2 separate regions of the Homo sapiens genome follow, and region 1 is linked to region 2. The links are contacts of gene promoters, found by promoter capture Hi-C in blood cells and fetal thymus (Javierre and others, 2016). All regions are on one chromosome and are shown on one strand. Each heading gives the region's core, a stretch centred on a gene start or on the middle of the fragment in contact. The rest is flanking DNA. Distances are from core to core; before and after follow the strand shown. Region 1 has its middle 13 kb from the start of RPL22L1. Region 2 holds the start of PDCD10 (programmed cell death 10).

What was found. The method cuts DNA at HindIII sites, captures the fragments that hold promoters and counts their contacts. A CHiCAGO score of 5 or more calls a contact.
Region 1: a fragment that was not itself captured here is called in contact with the fragment with the promoter of PDCD10 in region 2 in 1 of 17 cell types (non-activated CD4 T cells); the score reaches 10.4 in non-activated CD4 T cells.

What each region holds. Positions count from the first base shown.
Region 1 is chr3:170,854,905-170,858,568 of GRCh38, reverse strand. No RefSeq gene overlaps it. Among named protein-coding and RNA genes, the nearest start is that of RPL22L1, 13 kb to the left of the region's middle. The HindIII fragment of the contact is 1,328 bases long and covers 859-2,186 here.
Region 2 is chr3:167,733,522-167,737,377 of GRCh38, reverse strand. It overlaps PDCD10 (programmed cell death 10), which reads left to right and starts at 2,486. Exons shown (of 9, transcript NM_007217.4): 1 at 2,486-2,716; 2 at 3,028-3,164. It overlaps SERPINI1 (serpin family I member 1), which reads right to left and starts at 1,657. Exons shown (of 9, transcript NM_001122752.2): 1 at 1,555-1,657. RefSeq lists an enhancer at 2,235-2,674 and a silencer at 2,725-2,854. The HindIII fragment of the contact is 6,113 bases long and covers 1,382-3,856 here.

The sequences.
Region 1 (3,664 bases), core at 273-2,772, 3.1 Mb before region 2:
TGCTTATTTGGTTTCTGGTATAATAGGATGTGCTAGGCTCTTCCAAATTTCCTGCCTCAGATCTGGAGTCATCCGTTTTTTTGTTGTTGTTGTTTGCTTGTTTTTTTGAGACAGAGTCTTGCTCTATCACCCAGGCTAAGTGCAGTGGCGCGATCTTGGCTCACTGCAACCTCCGCCTCCCAGGTTCAAGTGATTCTCCTGCCTCAGCCTCCTGAGTATCTGGGACTACAGGCATGTGCCACCATGCCTGGCTAACTTTTGTATTTTTAGTAGAGACGTGGTTTCGCCATGTTGGCCAGGCTGGGCTTGAACTCCTGACTTCAAGTGATCCTCCTACCTTGGCCTCCCAAAGTGCTGGGATTACAGGGGTCAGCCAGTGTGCCTGGCCAGGAGTCATCCATTTCTACAAGGAGCTCTGGACTATTTTCTAGGTGCTGGAGATGCTTGTCATTACTGGGGTGGTGTTTGTTTCTAGGCCTTTTGAGTGGACAGAGTGAAGGAATACATTTTTGTTCTTAAGAGGAAATGATATGTTTATTCTGATGCTTCCAATTCAAAATCAGGATAAAAGAGTTTTTATTTCATCAATTGTATGACCATATCTCTTTTTTCCCATGCTGAAAGTTCCAGTTCTCAATGACACCAACACAAATGCTCATTTGCTTTATCTCACAATATACACATAATAGTTTCAATAAAATAATACCAACAAAACTACCTATAATATAATGACTTTACAGCTTAAGATTGTTTTGCAGTTCTTTTTGTCCTTATGGTATATCCCACTAGAAATGAACAAAGTTTCGTGTTTTAAAGTCACTAGAAATGATTCATCTCTGTGTGGGCGTAGAACAAGCTTGATACACAGAGTCATTTGTTTCATTTTGCTTTTGATTAAAAAGTTTGCTTAAGCCCACTTTGTTTTTTATAATTCTGTAAAATATTTACAGGATTCTAAAGTCCAATCTACAAAACAAAGTATATTTAGAAAAGTCTAGTTTCTCTGTCTTTTTTTTTTTTTTGAGACAGAGTCTCGCTCTGTTACCCAGGCTGGAGTGCAGTGGTACAATCTCAGTTCACTGCAACCTCTGCCTCCTGGGTTCAAGCAATTCTCCTGCCTCAGCCTCCTGGGTAGCTGGGACTACCAGCTCCTGCCACCACACCCGGCTAATTTTTGTATTTTTAGTAGAGAAGGGGTTTCACTATATTGGCCAGGCTGGCCTCGAACTCCTGAACCTGTGATCCACCCGCCTTGGCCTCCCAAAGTGCTGGGATTACAGGTATGAGCCACCGTGCCCAGCCCCTAGAGAGGAGTTGTAAACCTGAGACTTACAGGTCAAAAGATAAATGAATGTGTAATTTCTAGATATTGCTGAATTTCCCTTTACAGGGGTTGTAGCATTTTGCTCTCCCACTAGCCTTCCCACCAGCAATCTGTGAAATCTGTTTTCCTGTAGACACACCAAGAGATAACCTTGTCCAATTTGAGGCTTAACTGACAGGTGAGACCTGGTTTTCAGGGTAATTTTCCTTTGCATTGTATTTGTGAGTGAGGTTGAATGTCAATAAGGGTCATTTGCATATCTTTCTCTGTGAGCTGCCTGTTTATATCTCTAATATATATCTGTGGAATTCTTGTTTTTATTTTTAATTTTTTACTTTTAGAAGCTCCCTCTATGTTAAGGCTATTAACTCCTTGTGTGTGATGTAAATTACAATTTCTTTTTTCAGCTTCTCATTTGTCTTTTTCCCCTACTTATGGTATTTTTGTTTTTTAACTTTTTTTTGAGACAAGCCCTTGCTCTGTTGCCTAGGCTGGATCATGGCTCACTGCGTCCTTGACTTCGTAGATTCAAGCCATCCTCCCACCTCAGTCTCCTGAGTAGCTGAGACTACAGGCACACACCACTACCTGGCTCATTTTTTAAAAAATTTGGGTAGAGATGGGGTCTTGCTATATTGCTCAGGCTGGTCTTGAATTCCTGAGTTCAAACAATCCTCCTGCCTGAGCCTCCCAAAGTGCTATTATTGCAGGTGTGAGCCACCATACCCAGCTGCTATTTTTCTTTTGTTTTATTACTAGTTTTCATTTTGTTTTGTTGTAGTTGTTGCTATAGAAGCATTATTTTTATTTTTATGTAATTAAATCAATTAACTTTTTTCTTATTGCCATGGTTAGAAAAGCTTTCCCCGTTATCAAGAATTCATTTATGTTTTCTGCTAGTACTTACATATTTTCATCTTAAAAAAATGTAGGTCTCTATTCTATTTGGAATTTATCCTGGTTTACAATTTGAGAAGTGGATCCAATTATACCTTTTTCCCATGTGACTACCCACCTATACCATTACCCCTGATGAAAAAGTTCCCAGGAAGTTTTGCTTAGCATAGGTTTTCCTACTTACTGTCTGGAAACCCTTGTATGTGGTCATGCTGAAGGGACTGGAGTCTAGATATATAGCTTCAGTGTGTGCTCTTTTACAAGCTGGATGATTAAAATGCCAGGAAGGCCAGTTTTAAACAATGTGTTGCATTTACAAATGGCTTTCTCTTTTCTTTTGATCCCTTAACAGCCCTCTGTGGCACAATATTATCTTCCCATTTTTCAGATGAAAAAACCAGGTCTCAGGTTTACTGGCTTGCCCATGGTCACACCATGGCACCCACCTCTCACTCCTCACCCAGTGCTCCTCCCACACACGGGGCCATGTCACACATCCTGCCTCTCTGTTGCCTACTAGCTTTGTGACCTTGGACACATCTCTTCACCCTCTGGGCCTCAGTTTCCCCTTCTGTATATAAAGAAGTGGTTAAAAATAGGTCAGCATTTCTCGGGCTTTAGTAACACCTGCTTCCTTTTGATAAACACAGATATTTCTCATGTTCCTTGTTCCCAGTTCCAATTGCCACCCTGTGATATAACTGATGCATAAATATCCCCACCAACCAAGGTATTTTGGGGCTTTCTATTCTGAAACAAAACAAAGTAAGATTTTTGGGATAATTTTCCCACTATAAACTCATAATATTGGATATACCTTTTTTTTTTTTTTTTTTTTTTTTTTTTTGAGACGGAGTCTTGCTGTGTCGCCAGGCTGGGGTGCAGTGGCGCAATCTCGGCTCACTGCAACTTCCGCCTCCCAGGTTCAAGCGATTCTCCTGCCTCAGCCTCCTGAGTAGCTGGGATTACAGGCCCACACCACCACACCTGGCTAATTTTTTGTATTTTAGTAGAGATAGGGTTTCACCAGGTTGGCCAGGATGGTCTCGGTCTCCTGACCTCATGATACACACAAGCTTCTTGAGAGTAACATACTTCCCCCATGATAAGGCTTTTTTTTTCTGTCCTAAAATCCTATGAGTTAATGAGCCAAACTGGGAATCATGATCTGCTATCTCAATTATGATGGAATAGATATGTTTTCTCCCAAGGGAGGGAACACTGCAACTCCTCTCTCCCTCTTTCTCTGAGATGGGGAGGTGTGAATTACAGATTCCATACATGTCACAAATATATGGTCAATGATTTCTGCCTTGGCAGTCGCAGTCATGGGAGATGATGGGTGAGTTATATATACTCTCTGCACTCAAGGAAATCCCAGTTCTAACGAGGGGAGCAAATGTGGGTACAAATGACTTTAGGTAAGTGTGGTTCATGCAGTAA
Region 2 (3,856 bases), core at 1,237-3,736:
CAGCTACTGTTGCTTTTTCTTTCTTCTAAGCTCTTTGCTGTTTTTGATACTTAGCTGATTTGCTTAGGGGTAATTAAAAAGCAGCTGTTTTTCTATGATCTATCTGTCTATATATTTCTATGGTATGTGAGAGTGTGGGAGGGAAGAGTATACACACTGAAAAGTCACTTAGGCTTATCGGTAGTAGCACTCAGTAGGACTGAACTTTAATCTGGGAAGAGAATTCATTTGAGCCATTTCTTTTCAAAAAGAAATTTGGGATGCATTACAAAAATAAAATTTAAAATCCCGAGAACTCAGGAAAGCATAGAAATAGGAGAAAACAAGACAATTACTCCATTTTATTGACCCTGGTTATTAAAAAAAAACATAAAGTATTGAGACAGACTCTGAAATATGCAACTGTCACAATGAAAGCATTTCAGAGCAAAATTTGCTGCAATATGCTACTATGATTAAAAGCCATGTAATCTGGGAACCTCTGTAACAAAATGAAAATGAACTAGGAAAATAGCTTCTTACTACTTCTCTAAAAATAAAAGGCTGTAATTTTGTCATAATTACACAAAGGTAGGTGAGACTTTCATCTTTACCCAGCATTACAACTTATTTCCATCCATAGGTATTACAATTAACGTTGCTTTGAATGCACATATAGTTTAATACCGAGAATAAACTATTATTTTATGACACTACATGTGTTTTAAACTGAACCCACTATCATAACACATATTAAGGGTAGTCCTTCAGCACATACTCTCTACCCAGAGAAAAGATTCCCACACAGCTTTCCATGTACTCGTTTTTAAAATGTACACATATTATCGGACACAAATGAGAAACTAACGAGCAGCAGTGAGGTACACCATATGTTTCCATTGTAGGCTGAATCCAGGTCTTTGTTCCAATATTCCAGAGCCACTGGGAAGAAAGCTAACTATCCATTCATTAAAATTCATTTTTACATTATTGCTGGCAAAAGTTATACTTTTGATAGATTAAGTCAGAGCCCATCCTATCCTGACTATTCCTGCCTGCACTTGCTTCTTTAATACGGATTTCTTGCAATTCTAGGAAACTGCAAAATAACCACCCTGGATAACAGGTCGGTAGCAGGACAATCTGATAAACCAACGTAAAGGGTAGACACTGAAGAAGAATGCAAAGTTATTTTCCTAGTGAAATAGTTCAGAAGTTATTCTATATCAATAGCAAAATTTTTGCTTTTTATAGGCTACGCACCTATAACATCCACCAGATAACATCCACCTCGTCCTCAATTAGCAGGATTTTTCTCAATCTTCAGATCTCCCAGAACAGTTTTACTGGTGCAACTCAAACCAAAAACACTAACCACGCCCTTTATACCCAGAGTCAAGCTTCCTTTTGCTTTTTTGCCCTTAAAGTCGAAAAATGTAAATCTTTCACCCGAGAGGTTTTGCACCGGTTTCCTAACCCAACGCGGACTCTTTTAGCTGTGTCTTGATGTAATTCCTATTGGAAGACGTTTTCTCCAGGGCAGTGCAGACGCCCCGAAGAAGGACCCACGCTTACCTCCCACACACCTGCAACCCCTGACGGGATGCTGGAGCTTGTGCTCGGCGGACTGTGCTCCGCTCCGCTCTCGTTCCTGCTTTCGTCTCTCCCGGGAAACTACAGTCCAGACTGCGCCTCTGGCTTCTACAGGGACCCAAGCTCCGCCTCTCCCTCCTCTAGTTGGCGAATTTGGCAGCTGTTGCTCCTCCCCCTGCTGTTTCTGCAGCTGCCCGGACCGGAGGCAGCGGAAAGCAGCTGCCCTGGTACCTTTCCGCTCCCTGCACTTCTGCAGCTGCTCTGCCACTTCCACTCCCGTGGGGGTCCCTCTCCCCTCCTCTGTGGCTCACACCTGGAGCGGCCTCCTGCCCCACCCAGGCGTCTCTGCTGGGAGCCCCGGCTCAGCCTATCCTTCCCCGACCTGTGTGTCCGGATGCCCGGTGTGCCTGGGGCTTAGCTGCTCTCAGGGAAGCTGCCCCTCTGCCCAGTGCAAGTCCCCACACCAAGCCCTCCCTTCACCTGGGCGATTTCCCCGAGGCTTCCTCTCCACCCACACGGCATACTCAGCCCGACAGCCCCAGGATCCCCACCACAGGCCCCTCACCCCCTTCCTTCCTCTGCTCTGTCAGCCCGCCCCCTCAATGGGTGAGGCGCCTGCGGGGCCTACTCCGCACCCTGATTGGCGCAGGTGAGGGCTTGCCCCGCCCTTCCTCTCCTTTCCGTGCACCATCTCTCTTCATCTCACCTCCTCCCGCAAAGGCAGGGAATTCTCCTACTATTGGCTAGAAGTGTCACCACCCATCGCCTCAGGATCCCCCGCATGGCCTGCCGGGAAGTGTAGTCTTCCGATTGCAGGAATTGCGGACAACGCCGGCGAGCGGGACTACGAGTCCCCATAAGCCTCTGCACGACTCCGGCTGGGCAGGATTCCGGACAACGCCTGGTTCCTCTTGGGTCCTTCCGGCGTCGCCGGAGTGAATTGATCCGGGAGTTGAAGAGGGCTGCAAGGTGGGAAGTGAAGTCAGTGCCTCAGTTGCTGGTAAGGTGTAGCTGTTCTGTCCCAGTCCCCGTAGCTCTGCACCGAGCAGAAGAGGTCTAGGGTCACGCAGGGGCCATGGCTGAGGCACTTGGGCTTGGTTCTGGCAGGCGGAGCGGACGGGGCTGAGAGCGGGGCCCTACGGGCGTAAGCGAGGTTACCCTACGCGAGTGGCGTAAAGCGGGTTTGTAAATGCCGCCTGCCGGCTTGGGCCCGAACGCCTCCAGGAAGTCTCCTCTAGGTGGGGGCGGGAGGGGAAGGGCGAGGTTGGCCCCTGGTGCCCCGGGAGAGGGGACAGGGCGGATGTGCCTGGGGTGGGGTCCTTTGAAGGTGTGGCTTCGGACCGAGAGGTGAGGCTGCTGTTTTCCCCCTGCTTTGTAAGTAAGAGAAAAGGGAGGAGGAAGGAAAGGGTGCTTGGGAGTCGGCTCTTGGGGGTGACTCGGGTTATGCCCTTTGAGGGAAGAGGAGCACTGGAAGAAGGAAGAGACAAATGTTGGGGTCTACGGATTCAGTTCCAGTTTAATGATGTGGCCCTCTAAGGAGATAATTTTGCCTTAAACAGAAAGACTTGACCCTCTTAGGTGTCATACCTAAGGTATGTTTTTACTCCTTTACTGCTTTCAGAGCGCTTTCATTTTGGGATGCTGATGAGGAAACCGAGGGATTATATGACGTGCCCAAGGTCACACACGTAGGGACAGACTTTCTGAATCTAGTTCGGTTCGAGTCCAGCTTTAGAGTAGGGACGTTGGTTGTGCTTTTTGAAAAGGGTGGAGGAAGTTACAAAGTAAATGTATTTTATATAGTATATCTAAGAAGCCATTGTGAGATAAAAAGTTGTTTCTTGAACCGGAGTGAAATTCCTCAATAAAGGAAAGATCCTTTTGGAAAAAATAAAAATGGCCAGTTTCAACTTTTACAGATTTTTCCCCTTTTTTTAGGGGTGTATTAAATGATAGACTCTACTCTCACAGTTCATTTTTACGGGTAGGTAATAGGATGGGAGAACAACAGTTAAACAATATATCCCATCCTTAGAAGAATATTCTTTTCTTTTTCTACCTTAGGACTGTTTTTACTCTCATTTTGTAAAACTGATAATAGTGGGATTGGAATTCTTTCACAAAACTACACTTTTTTCAAATAATGTAGCGTTAGGAGAGTTTAGTGTGCCCATTACTAGAAAAGAAGGTATTTTGCATTTCTTGGAGGTAACATCGTCTTTTTTGAGACTTTACTTTTCCCCCATTTTCTTGACTCTGGGCTGTATTTGTGTGTGTGTCTGCA